Linked DNA regions of Homo sapiens: region 2 is linked to region 1. The links are contacts of gene promoters, found by promoter capture Hi-C in blood cells and fetal thymus (Javierre and others, 2016). All regions are on one chromosome and are shown on one strand. Each heading gives the region's core, a stretch centred on a gene start or on the middle of the fragment in contact. The rest is flanking DNA. Distances are from core to core; before and after follow the strand shown.

What was found. The method cuts DNA at HindIII sites, captures the fragments that hold promoters and counts their contacts. A CHiCAGO score of 5 or more calls a contact.
Region 2: a fragment that was not itself captured here is called in contact with the fragment with the promoter of ABHD10 in region 1 in 1 of 17 cell types (endothelial precursors); the score reaches 9.9 in endothelial precursors.

Annotation. Positions count from the first base shown.
Region 1 is chr3:111,976,182-111,983,377 of GRCh38, forward strand. ABHD10 (abhydrolase domain containing 10, depalmitoylase) reads left to right here and starts at 2,845. Exons shown (of 5, transcript NM_018394.4): 1 at 2,845-3,022; 2 at 5,603-5,786. The coding sequence starts at 2,881. PHLDB2 (pleckstrin homology like domain family B member 2) reads left to right here. Exons shown (of 18, transcript NM_001134438.2): 18 at 1-336. RefSeq lists enhancers at 2,487-3,046, 2,905-2,954, 2,965-3,014, 3,035-3,084. The HindIII fragment of the contact is 3,690 bases long and covers 460-4,149 here.
Region 2 is chr3:111,860,156-111,867,351 of GRCh38, forward strand. All of the region lies in intron 1 of PHLDB2 (pleckstrin homology like domain family B member 2), which reads left to right. It overlaps LOC105374040 (a long non-coding RNA gene), which reads right to left and starts at 661. Exons shown (of 4, transcript XR_924333.4): 1 at 505-661. RefSeq lists enhancers at 1-103, 434-543. The HindIII fragment of the contact is 2,563 bases long and covers 814-3,376 here.

The DNA of each region.
Region 1 (7,196 bases), core at 1,595-4,094:
ATGATGTAGTAAGCCTCTTAAATATGTGTGTTAAATATATTGAGTTTGGATTAAAATGTTGACATGATTTCACATTTGAAAATAAACTCATCTCTTATTTTGAAGTTACCTATCTGTAGTATGATGGAGGATGAATTAATCGCAAATGACAGTTGTAGAAACTATGTAAAGTTTGTTGTGTGCTAACATTATGATTTGTAGTGTATAAACTGAAGTATTCCAATAGAAGTATCTCTGGTTACATCCTATTGCTTACAAAATGAAATGAACCCTGAAAAACTCTGACATCATATTGTTGTCTGTTTACACAGATACATTTATTGCTGGGGATTGCAAGGAGTGTGTTTACTTATCCTTATCTTACACGAAAAAAAAATCATGTAAATGTGATATAAAGCTTTATTTGGTGGGGCATCTCATTTGTCCCCCTGAACTAAGGCAGCAGATTTCAGAGAGAGAAGCTTCCCTCAGCAGTATGTCCCTTTGCCCCCTTTATATATTGATGAAGTCAACATTGACAATAGGTACCCAGAGTGGAAACAAATTTGTCTACTTCAAGCTCATCACTGTCCGTAAAAGCATCTGTACTTGCTACTGGCCATAATTTTTTCTAATTTGTTAGACAACAAGAGTGAATACAGAAAACAATCCATGGGTTTCTCTGCTTTTCTGTGCAGTGATTTTCCCACTATGACCAGTCAGATTTTTCATCTTACTGCAAGTAAAATGCAAGAAGACTTGCAAAAATAAAGGGGAAGAAAAGGGAGAGAAGTGATTGAGAATATTTGCAATTATCCAAAACATGCAGAGAGAAGTGTTTGTTAAGATATAAGGGATGGGCCAGGTGCGGTGGCTCACACCTGTAATTCCAGCACTTTGGGAAGCCAAGGGGGGTGGATCACCTGCAGTCAGGAGTTCGAGACCAGCCTGGCCAACATGGTGAAACCCCATCTCTACTAAAAATACAAAAATTAACCAGGCATGGTGGTCGGTGCCTGTAATCCCAGCTATTCAGGAGGCTGAAGCAGGAGAATCGCTTGAACCCAGGAGGTGGAGGTTGCAGTGAGCTGAGATCGCCCCATTGCACTCCAGGCTGGGTGACAAGAGCGAGACTCAGTCTAAAACATACACACACACACACACAAAAACCCAAAAAAGAAATATAAGGGATGATGAAATGACATGCATCAGGCATCACCTTAGTGATTTAGTCCCTTAGAGTCTACAACAGGTCTAATGGAGAACGGGCAACATAGCTCAGCATCTTTTGGAGTATGTCCTGAAATCAAGTTGCTGTCCTTAACTATATGTCCTTAGTAGAGAGAGGCATCCCACCTCTCAAGAAAGAGATCTATTCAGTCTTTATTTATCTAACTGTTCCAGACTGTTCCAACAGTCCAGGTTCTCACGACTCCAAAGACATGCTGGATTCACTATATCCAAACTTTGCCTTTAATTCTGGTACCAATTACTGCCCCCCAAATTTATAACCAGGATAATAAAAGTTACTTTACTATCTTATATATACTCAAAGTATTACACAAGCCACCATAACTTTTAAATAGGAAACTACTACGTAAAACTCCATGGTTGATGCTTGAGGCCCCCAGGAATTAGTTTGAAAGGTATTTAGAGCTGGAGTCCGGAAACCCTTGTACTACAATTTATTCAACTATTTTTCTATTGTTAGCCATTCCCATTTTTTTCCTTCTCTTTGCCTCTAAAAACGGTGTAGTAGATAATATGCAGTCTTAAGAACTAGTGTTGTTTTTCTATAGGATAATCACAAATTGGTGCCACTGCGTTAAAAGGCACTGGAATGGATGCATATTTTAAAATTGTAATAGATGTGGCCATATTACTTCACAACAAATTTTAGTAATTCACCTTCCTAGCAATCATACATAAGTGCTAGTGTCTAGCATCCTTGCCAATTATTTTTCTTTTTTGCCAACTGAATGGGGGGAAAAAGGCATTATTTTTTTAATTCCAGTTTTTCATTTAGTGAGTTTGAGCATCATGTTTCCTTATATGGGCTGCCTATTTATAGCTGTTGGCCAATTTTATTTGAATTATATTTCTTATTTATAGGAGCAGGCTGAGTAGAAGTATTAATGTATCTATGCTACAAAATCCATTTTTCTAAGCTCTTAACTTGAGGTGTCTTTTGCCATTCAAAAAGTTTAAATTCGTATACAAATATATTTTTTATTTATGATGTTGGGGTTTTGAAATCTTGGTTAAGAAAGTCCCTTCTGTCCCCGGATTATATAATATTCTCCTAAAATTTATTTAATCCTCTCAGTTGTATTCTTCCGTTGAAATCTTTTTTTACTGAAATTTATTTTCGCATATAGCACGAGGAGGGGGCCAAGATAATTCAGTATTTCGTTAATCAGGCATATAGATCTAGAGCGGGGAATGTCCGATACCATTCCAGGTTATACAGGCGAGATTAATGTCAGATCTTGGGAGCATTTCCAGTACAGGTTAAAACTGTCACGCGGTCGGCGGGATTGCAGGTGATGCAGCAAGCCTGGTGTCCTCGACAGGAGACGTTTCCCATCTAGGACCGTTGGATAGGGTTCCTTTCTGAGCTTCCAGCTCTGTAGTATCTATCAGCCCGCTGATAGGGCAGCCTCCCGACGCCACTCAAAACATCTTAAAGGCCCCAAGCCAAACCCCGCTACTAGTAGAACCAACAGTCTAAACGAAAGAGCCACGACGCTCTGCGCATGTGCGCTCTTCGCAAGCTGAAAATCTTGCGGGGAGCTCTTTAGCAAGTTCCGCCTTCCAGCCTGAAGCGCATGCGCAGCCTCGGTTCCGTTGCGTAGCGTGTCCCTCAGTGGGACACTGCAGGGTGCGGGGACAACTACGAAGATGGCGGTTGCGCGCTTGGCAGCTGTGGCGGCCTGGGTACCTTGTCGGAGCTGGGGCTGGGCAGCCGTCCCCTTCGGTCCCCACCGTGGCCTCAGCGTGCTGCTTGCACGGATACCTCAGCGGGCGCCACGGTGGCTCCCAGGTCAGTGTCCGAAAGGCGGGAGTAGGATGCGTTCTTTCGAACGCCTCGGGTTCCGTCAGTTACCGTGCCTGTGCAGTGCGTCTTTGGCGCCCGGTTCAAAAATGCTCCTCCCCCTTTCTCAACACCCCAGTTCTAGGCGCTTTGTAGACTTCTGGTGAAGGCTGTGAGGAGAGCTCTGCCGCGGCCCTGCGGCATTCTGGGCACCCCGGGCCCTCGCTGGCGTTTTACACTGTGCAGTTTAAAGAGCTCCTGCTCCTTACCTGCCTCCCCTGCATTAAAGGCCAACACTAGAAAAAATTAAAATGTGCATTTAATGCATTATTATTAGTTACTTCTAGGAATTTGTAGATTGTGACTCCTAAAATGCTTAGACTGACTCTCCTTTGAGTTTAGGGAACCTAACAATGCGAGGCATGTTCTTTGTAAAAGTGTAGACGCCCTCATAAGCCTAATTTCTAGTTCTGCTTTCTTGCTGCACCCACTCAGTGAAAGAACCATAATCATTATTGCACAAAGGAAACTAGAATTTGGGCTAAAAATCAGAGAACCTCTTATATGTATATATAGTCTTTGAATTAGATCCTTTTATTTTTTTGGCTTTGTGTGTGGTTCACACCATTGCCACGTAGCTGTCAGATGATGCATGGTGCTTGGAGTGGTAATTAATGTCACGGCAGAGATCTTTTGTATGGAGATTTTTGTATCCAGTTTTTAAACTTTTATAATCAGATTAACTTGCATTTAATTGTGCGCAACCAAAAGGCATGTTACACATGCAAATACTCCTAGTAAAATGTAGTATGTCAATTCATTAACCAGAGTATAATATTATTTCATCTAGTTAGCACTTATTCATTGAGCACTTATGCACCAGGCTTTGAATTAATCCTTATGTTCAAAGATGATTTATGAATATAATTATATGAATCTGTCTACTTAGAACTTACATTAAATAAATTATAATCATCTCGGGGAAATTATGTTTTAAGAGGTGATTTCTGGAAGAGGATAGTGAGAATTTTTTTTAGTGCTCAGCTGAGTAGATGGGAAATGAACATGAGTGGATCAGCATAACTGGTCCTTACCAAAAGTTTTAAATTTGGCATATTTCTCTATACTTTGAAACAAGCTTTTATGTAAAAAGGATAACTTTAAGGCCTTCAGTTACATCTTTAAAAAATCAACTTCTTAATTACAAAATGGGGAAAACTTTAGCAGCACACATGGATTCTCTTCTCAAGACTGAGAAGTTTTCAAAGTGGAGGACGGCTTCATTTAATATAAAAAAAGAAAATGTATTAGTCCAAAGACTCTAAGGAAGTACACAAAACTAGTGTCTTTGGAAAGAAGAGGTGGGATTATAAATGACTCTTTTAAAAAAATATCTACTTGTTTCTTAAGAGCAAGTATAGATTTTATAATGGGGGAAAATTTGAAAAAGATGAAGTAGGATAATCTTATGAAGTTCACCAATTGTACTGTTGTACTTAAATTACACTAAAATCTCTGTGTACCATTTACAGAAAGCCAAACCAACAAAACGCAAAGTGATTGCATAGGTCTATAAGAAATCTCTTTCCAAAAACGATACTATCATATGTTGTTTTTAAAGAAACTGCTCATTGAACCCACCTCAGCTGACAATAAAATTATGAGTTGTTACCATGGCTCATGATTTCTTGGTTGAGGTAGGCGGATGGGTGGGCGGGTGGATGGGAGTCAGTAATAAAAAGGGCACAGCACGTCCTCCTTTGAAACAATTTTGCAAGGGCAGACCAAACCTGTTTCTTCCCTGACCCCCAAGAAAGTAGGGGATGAAAGGCCAGGCATGGTGGCTCACACCTGTAATTTCAGCAATGGGAGGCCAAGGTGGGAGGGTCACTTGAGCCTGGGAGTTTGAGACCAGTCTGGGCAACATAGTGAGACCCTGTCTCCACAAAAAATACAAAAATTAACCAGGTGTGGTGGTACATGCGTGTAGTGCAGCTACTGGGGAGGCTGAGGTGGGACGATGGCTTGAGCCTGAGGAGTCGAGGAAGTCCAGGCTGCCGTAAGCTAGGATTGCACCACTGCACTCTAGCCTGAGTGACAAGGTGAGACCCTGTCTCAAAAAAAAAAAAAAAAAAAAAAGAAAGAAAATAAGGGATGTGAAACTTGTCAAACAAAAAATAAATTTAAAAACAAAGCCAAAAATCTCACAAGAGAGGGCTGAAACTATTGCGGGTAAATCTGAATGTTGATTGATACTGTTTAGAATACATGATAAAGCAGTAACAAGAAAATGTTTTTCGATTAGTCTCTGTCTTTTGTTGTCTTGAAATTCCTACCGCATTGTGTATTTTGGAAGAATCAAGATTGGACTTTGCTCAAAGAAGTTACTGATGTTGGCATGATTTTAAAACTGGAGATCTCATGCACAGACTTACTTAGTACTTTGAGTCTGTTCTTGTTTTTTCTATTAAATGGAAATAGTATTTAACATCAATTCATTGAGATAAGAAAGTTAAGATCGAAAATATATATGGTTTTCCAAAGACTGAGTTTACAAACCATAGTTTACTTTTTGTGTACTTTGTTTAGCTTGTAGACAAAAGACGTCACTCTCATTCCTTAATCGACCAGACCTTCCAAACCTGGCTTATAAGAAGCTAAAAGGCAAAAGTCCAGGAATTATCTTCATCCCTGGCTATCTTTCTTATATGAATGGTACAAAAGCGTTGGCGATTGAGGAGTTTTGCAAATCTCTAGGTCACGCCTGCATAAGGTAGGAACAACACATTACTGAGAAAATATTGCTACTGTTAGCATTACAGTGGAGAATTACTTCTGTTCTAATCAGTTGAAGTAAATGCCAGCATTTTTATACATTATTTTAATGGTCTGTAAACTTGCATCTTGTGATTTAGGGTAATTTTAAAAGCAACCTTTAAAAGACCTTTTTTAAAGGCCTTTGTGCCACGCTGACAACCCTGGCAGAAAAGGACATCTTAAGGGAAATATTGGTAACTAAGCTCTTTAGAGGCAATAATGTATGTGACAACAAACAGATATACTAGTTGGCTTTCATACAGTCTCTTATATTATCATTTTCCACTGGGGACTTAAGGACTTTATTTGATCACTGTTTATCTAAAAGTAATACATGTATTTAAAAGTATCATAATGCAAATTTCTGCTGAGTTTTCTCTTCCCTCTCCTGTAATCTGAATATGTATAAGCATAAATAGGGATAAGTGGTACTTAACTCAAGCTTGATTTTATAATTCCTAATTTTTCACACTGAGAGTTATTTTAGTAAATAACTTTATGTTATTATAAGGTCTACCTGTAGCAGTTATATGTTTAGTATCCACTGTCCAGAAGAGATGGTATGATTTCGTAAAAAGAAGATTAGCCTGGAATTCAAGAAACATGAGTTCTAGAATAAATTCGAGCAATAACTATGACAAGACAAGTAAGTTAATAAACATTGGACCTAAGTTTGTCATCAAAAGAAGGAGGTTGGACTAGAGATAACTTCTGAGTTATTTTCTAGCACTAACAGCCTAAAAATCTATCCATCTAAATTTTTAGAAGAGTGACTCACAAACATTCATTCAATAATTCTAGAAAATACAGCTGTATATAAAACTTTCAGACTACCTGTTCAATATATTAGCAGCAATTATGTCAATTATAAAATTAAATAAGATTTAATCTTATTTCTTTTACCAAACTAATGAATTATTTTATTTTCATACTCAGAACTATGTTAAAATCTGTTCTGACTTATTCTGAAGATTGGAGTACTTTTTGGAAATAGATTCTCTAGCACTATACTGAGTGCTGCATAATAACAAAGAATTATAAAACATTGTACTTGCCTATGAGGACCTTTCATTCAGGGTGGGGAAACACAAGATAAAATACATGTTAGAAATTTGGCAGAAATACTCATCAGAATGTGATTGTGTCAAAAGAACAGTATACTTAATTGCATAAAGTTAGAGACAGTGGGATTGAAATAGATAAAGGAACGTTGAAGAATAATTCAGATTTGGGTGGGAGGGAAGTGCTGTCCAAGGAGGGGGACTGTCCTGAGCAGAAGATCATAATATCAAAAATATTGTTATCACTTTTCTTTTTTGCCACTGAATAAATTTGAATCGAGAAATCACCATTTTACCAGTTCTAA
Region 2 (7,196 bases), core at 845-3,344, 120 kb before region 1:
ATGGAGAGAGGGATGGGGATCCTTGGGATAGCTCCCTGAGAAAGAGAAGGTCCGCTGCTGGATGGTGTAGGGCGCGGGATTCAGAGAAGACTCCCTCCCCGCAAATATTTGGCTAGCTGCGCTTCTAGTTCCACTTTCTTTCAAGAGTGAACCTACGAGCTTTAACCGCCAAAAGCGGCTGATTTCGATTTGGCCTTTGACCCCCCACTGAAAGTTTACAGTGTGGCCGTCTCGGCACCCCTAGAGATAGCAGCTGGAAGGCTTGGGGAGTATTTTAACCCTCTGTTTCTCCAGCTCCCTGCGCGGCGGAGGCGCAGCTGAATCGTTTGCTGGTTCGCTTAATAACTTAGCCCTAGCAGTCATCACTTATTAAAGCGCCGAGGACCTGGCTAACTCCCGCCACCACCAGGAAATTAAAAGGCTGACAGGCTGTCCCTCCCAGGGTTGGGGTTTCCTGTTTGAAAGAGCTTGAGAAGTCAAACTGCTTCGCGGTTCCTCACTTACCTTTCTTATGTAAAAGAGGGAGCGACGCCCGCAGCTTTTTCTCTCGGTAAACTACCCGTGGCTGGAAATCCTCCGGGCGCCTGGCCCTGCCCTCTTCCCTAGAAATCTTTATCCTGCAACTCTGAAGTAGCTCTAAAGAGCTCTAGAATGCACAACTAGTCATAGCCAGGCACAGCTGGGAGTGTAACTAGACGAGGCATAAAAATGTGGAGTCTTTTTAGTGTAAATATTTGTCAGCCACATTTCCCTTCGTAATATGAACGTGTAAGTTACAGATGTAGGTTTTCAAGTATTGGACGTGTAATTTTAAGCTTCCTAGTTTGGTTTAATTTGGGCGTTCGAGATATGTCTCTGGGATTCTAACGTTTGAATTCGGCTGGGAGAGATCTAAATGAGGTCCACAGTTTCAGAAGGTTAAACTTTTGCCCTGTGAACACTTGAATTCTTGGTTCCTGGTAGGTTAGCAACAGAACTGTCGGATTTGGGATAAATAAACCGTTAGAGTTGCCCACTATTTTAACAGAATGGCTATATCTCTCTTGCCGTTGCCTTCAATTGTGTAAATATTTGTTTGAATAAAGAGCGAAGGTTCTTTGAAAAGTAACAGTTCTGTCTATTCTTGGCTCCCCTTTCATATCCTCTGCTTAGTTATTTAAAAGGATTTTCTTTGCCTCTTACATTTAATGGGGAAATTTAAACATTACATGTACTTAAATTCTGTAAAGTTACCAAACCATTTATAACTGGCAAATTATTTAATGACAAGGAAGAGTTGAGTTTGTCGTCTTAGTTGGCTAATGTAGCCTTCATCTCTTGAGACCCAGAGGTTTGCAGATCTCAGCCTGTCAGAAGTGGAAAAATGAGATGTCTGGTTAAGAGTAGTCATCATTTCAGTCAATTTGCAGGCCTCAATCTGTTTTATGCAGCTGGCAGCTGCTGTTCTTTTGGTGTTGAGATCGTCTGCCACGAGTGTCGCCTGGATCCCTGTTTGAAAAGGGGAGGAAAAGATACTTGGGAAATTGGACTGAGAGCTTGCTTACTCCTCCGTTCAATAACTGTGACCAAGCTGAAACTCGTTAGCAACCTTTCCAGAAACGTTTTATTTACCATGTGTGTTTGTTGTGTATGCAAGAGAGGAAAAAATAAGCCAAAGTGATTAACCAATCTCTGGTTTTCCCTATTTTCTTCAAAGCTCCATTTTGAGATCTATAAGCAAGGGTTGACTCTCGAGTTCATTGGAGAAGTTACCTCGGCTCACTACAACTTCTGCCTCCTTGGTTCAAGCCATTTTCCTGCCTCAGCCTCCCGAGTAGCTGGGATTACAGGCGCCTGCCACCACACCTGGCTAATTTTTCTATTTTTAGTAGTGACAGGATTTTGCCATGTTGGTCAGGCTGGTCTCAAACTCTTAACCTCAGGTGATCCACCTGCCTTGGCCTCCCAAAGTACTGGGATTACAGGCATGAGCCACCACACCCGGTCTCCTTTTAAATATTTTTAAAGGAGTAGTTAACGTTATGGCTTTATATCCTGATTTTCAACCCTTAGCAGGGAGGCAGTGCTATGGTGCTGTGGATGGCTTAGAGTGACAGTGGCTTTGTACATTTTCTAGGTGGAGTACCTGTGCCTTATGAATCTATCTGTAAAGTCTTGGTGTACCAATTGTTGATTGTGTAAATGTCACTCTTTTGAAACAAAAACACCTAAGTGATGTGCTTTATCTTAAAGTCCTGACATACATTAGAGCTGTGGTTTTCACTGGGAGAGGGGTTTTGGCCCCCAGAGGATACTGGCAACGTATTTTTGGTTGTAGCAACTGACAGGAGGAGAGTGCTACTGCCATATAGTGGGTAGAGGCCTGGGATGCGGTTAAGCACCCTGCCATGCACGGGACACAAAAACAATTATGCAGCCCCAAACCCTGCACTACAGTATTGCCTGGGGGAGTAGGTTAACAAGATTAGGCATCTTAATCTGATTTGGATCCTCAAGAAACTTGTTTAACTGTGTTAAACAAGAGACCCTTATCATAGAAGCCGTTTTGTATGCAGCAGATTCTTTTGTCCTTGCCATTTAGAGTCTTAATATACCATAGAGGTCGAGGAACTTGTGTTCATTGACAACTTTGAGATGGATTAAAGTCATGGGATTTGGGAGCATTAGAGCACAAGGGAGCCTCAGAGATCACTTAATTTCTACCCCTTCTTTTTATAGATGTAAAAAACTGAGACACTCAGAGCTTTAGGACTCATAAGGTCTCAAGCGAGCTAAGGGCGGGCAGACAAAGTTCTAGGTACAACCCAGGAGTTAAAAATTTTAAAATAGAGATTCAGGCAAATGGGAACAAAAAACAAAACACACTGGACCTGACCTTGTGTAAAAGTTTCAAAGCACCATTCCCTGTGAGAAAATAAATAAATGCTTCGATGGGGGAGGGGTGGCATTAGCCATAGAGACTGTGGGGCACGTGCCTGGGTGCCCCAGTCCCAGAAAGGGGTAATTCCATTATATGACCTGTGACACTCCACTTCTGATGCCTGTACTGTCCTTTCCATGGCAAAGTAGGCAACAGATGGTTCCACAGACATAGCAGATGTTGCTTTTGAATCCAGGTACAAAACAGAACATTTGAGATTTTCTGTTCCTCCCTGCCTTATCGGTTAAGAGTAGAGTACATGAATGGATAGGGCTGGCTTGGACAGAAGGGAGAATTACAGAGGCCTCCTGAGTATGGAAGAAAAAAAGACACCTGGCATATATGGAAATGAGCAAGTGTTGGGGAAATTGTGGGAGAAATTCATAAGCTGATGAGGGGATATCTAATATAAATTCAATTGCATAGAACTAGGATTAAGAATCAGAAGACAATTCAAGCTTAGCTATTCTTTCAGCATGTAGAACAAAATAACTATGGGGGTAAAAGGAACCTTAGAAATCCTCTTATCTGAATCTTTTCCCTCCAACCAACTAACTGGGTTAGATAGCGGCAGAATCTGCAAGCCTCCTGTTCTATTGTACTTTCTCCTGCACCCACAGTCTCTACCATTCCATGTGTTTACCTAATGGGAAAGAAAATGATAGTAAAGAAAGTTATTGTTAATTACTTGGGAGAGTTTAAAAAGCATGGTATTTGTGAATGGCTGTTTATAGAAAGGAGTTACCTTAATGAGTTTATGATTATCAGAAAAGTTGTACACCATAGCCTGATTAATTACAAACATGTATACTCTCCTGTTTACATTGCTATGGTTAGCCATTAGGCTCATGATTATAGATTCTAGTTCTGGGTGCCAAGCTGTCCTCCTGTGGTAGTTATTTTATCTAATACTCAAATCTGACAGGTTCTGGCCATATAGGAAAGTTTTTAGTATGCCTTTGGTGGGAGACATAAAACCTCTGAAAAGTGTTAAGATAGTTTCTTATCATTTTGACAACTAGCCAAAGGGTGCACCTCAAAGCCAAGTACATAGTGATATATTTAGAAATGACTCAAGAGTGATAGCCCTTTTAAGGGATCTGCCCCCCCGCAGGTACTATGCAAAAGGGGTGTAGCAGTCTTTTCATTATCATCTTTCATCTGGCCATTCTTGTTACTGTTTTTCAGATGATGGGAGAGGAGACAGGAGTAGTTTTTAAAAAAATAACTGTTGGCTAGAAATATTTATTGGGATTTGATTAAAGTAACTTGTCTTTTAAAAATAAATGAAACCAAAATTGTTAGCTCAGATTTTCAAATCCCTTCAAAGTAAACATTTAGCAAGGCAGAACTTCTCTCTATGTTCATCCAGGAATTTGAACCTTCTGGGAGTTAATTTGCTTACAGTTGTTTTCATGACGCTTAAGGATGTTTCTTAGACATTGCAGAAAAGGAGCTTTGTGCTGTATCTGCTTTAAAGGCAAGATAGTTGTCTATAGCAGCTAGTGGTCAATAAGAGAAACCCAAGTGTAAAAATCATTTTACTGTTGTGTGGGAAACTAGAGGTTGTAGGTAATTGCTATACAAAGAAACAGATTAATAAGATATAGAGTAACAGGGTTAGTCAAAAAGTTTTTGAGAGGATTTTTACAGGAGATACTTGTTTAGTGTGTTAGGTTGATTTTATTAGATGAAGTGCTTTTCCTTACTTTACAAAGTAAAAGGAAAGAAAATATTGTGTATGCCACTGTTTATCGATGGCCTTAAGCCAGGTCAGCTTTTTCTGAGACTTGCTGCTAATTCAGTGGGAATTGGTGTTGATCATCTTAGAATGTTTTGTTTGCACATTGCATGTGACTGCCCTAGATGGCAGTATGTTCATGGAACTAGCCTATGAAATAGCAAAAAAGTTAAAGATTACAAGAGTTTTCCAAGATTTCTTTCTTGACCACCCTACTGCTAAAACAAGGAAAGATAAAGGCAAAAGAAACCCAGCTCCTACATTCTTTTGACCAGTGCAGACCCAGTGTGAATAGTGCCGCACAGCCAAGAGATATTCAGAGGGGATTGAGAAGTGATGTCTGGCTGCCTCACTGCTTACGTCATTGCAGAAGTAGCTTTTCAAAAACAGCTTAAGATTTATTAAGGAAACTGCAAGCCATGGGAATGCAGACAAAACCTTTCTTATACATCATGCTCAATCAAATACCCATATTATATTACATTACCATAACTCTGACCAGGCCTTTTTCCCACTATGTTATGCTAAAACAATTTACCATGCCTTTGGAATGTCATGGGCAACAGTCCGGTGAAATCTTTTCCCAATTAGGTAGCTGCCACCTTATCACTAAAACTATTTCTGTTCTGTGGTCATTTCCATTTCCTGCATTATGTAATGAGCACTCCTGTGTTATTTAACCAGTATCTGTGGGAGTCCAGAAAGTTGGAGCAGAAAGAACATGTAGTTCACTCTCACCATGTTGAGTATGGAGAAACTCCTGTTGAAACAAAATGAAGACAGGCGAATTGACGTGCTCCAGATCTTAGTTCTGTTAGCAGAACCAGAACTAAGATGGATCTTCTGACTTGCTTCCCTGGCAGCCTATCCAGTGTTCTTTCTACTAGATTGGCCACTGTAATAAAAATAACATCCTAACGTAACCATTTCCTTTATTAGATCTTTTGGCCAGAGTTATTAAAAAAAAAGCATTGATTAAAATTAAATTAAACTTAGTCAATTGTTTATCTTGACTTGTTCAAGTTATTTCCCTTCTTTCAAGCAGTAAGTGGTCAAAAGGTAGATAGCATGGAAGGGAAAAATTAAGTGTTTTATAATACTCATTCTGCACAATCAGCTGCTAAGTAATGAAGATATGATATTATCATAATTATTATTTTTACTTTACAATATTTTAGAAACCTACCCCACCCACTCATTTTTTTTTTTTTTTTTTTTTTTTGGAGACAGAGTTGCTCTGTCACCCAGGCTGGAGTACAGTGGTGCGATCCAGCTCACTGCAACCTCGGCCTCCCAGGTTCAAGTGATTATCCTGCCTCAGCCTCCCGAGTAGCTGGGATTACAGGCATGCACCACCACACCCAGCTAATTTCTGTACTTTAATAGTGATGGGGTTTCGCCATATTGGCCAGGGTGGTCTCAGACTCCTGACCTTTGGTGATCTGCCCACCTCAGCATCACAGAGTGCTGGAATTACAGGCATGAGCCACCGAGCCCGGCCTCATGTACTCAATTTGTGATGTAAAGCGAAATGCATTACAAACATGGAAGATGTGGTTGACCTGTGTTTGTTCCACCTCTTGTGAGCCTGTTTGTACCCTGACTATTCCCAGTTCATAAATCTTGGGTTAGGGAATGGGAATTCCAGCAAGTATTTAGGTCTGGGGAATGTTACTTTGGAAAAATTAAATATTACTCTTAAGGGAGTGTCTTTTGATCAGTAGTGTGGGATGGGGCAGGATGGCGGCAAGATCGGAGAGTTTCCCTCCCATACACTCTCCTCAGCTTCCAGTTAAAGTCCACGGAGGTGGTTTCAGGGTCAAGAGAGAGCATCTTTATCTACATATGATCCCCAGGTTGATAATTCTCTTGCTTGAAATTAGCTTTGAGATCAAAAGATCAGAGGGTGCTTTTCCCTGTAGCACTCCTGTGATTAAAGAAGAGTATCTGAAGTTAGTTATCCCATGATTCTGCACTTCACTGGGTGATTACGTAGTAAAGGAAGACCCTTCTAGCTTTACGGGGGACTTGATCAGGATCCTTGGTTAGGATTCTGTGAAGAACTTGACCTAAAGAGCTCCTCCACTCTCTTCCTTAACATAAGTTTCTAAGGGGTGTGTGTGTGTGTGTGTGTGTGTGTGTGTGTGTGTGTGTGTATTTTAACCTTTTAATTGAGGCTGGAATTCTTGATATGGAGGGTTTGACAGTTTTATGAAGAAATCATTATTTGGGCACGCAGTGGTGACACTTAGCTACCCCACATAACGTTATCTTGCAAATATCTTAAATGTGATGGCCTGCTTACTTGTTATCTTGAAAATGTATTTGCTTTCAAACTTCTCCCAGTTACTTAAAAATACATGTATCAGCTTTTAGGAACTTAATTCAGTATGATAAAGAGTTAGTATTTTATACTTAAAAAAAAAATCAGCTAGGAGCCAGTGATATGACCCCAACCTTCTTTGTAAAGTCAGCTACTATAATTTTTAAGGCAGTATACACATTTTATTGATGTTGACTTGCAGAATGCACGTA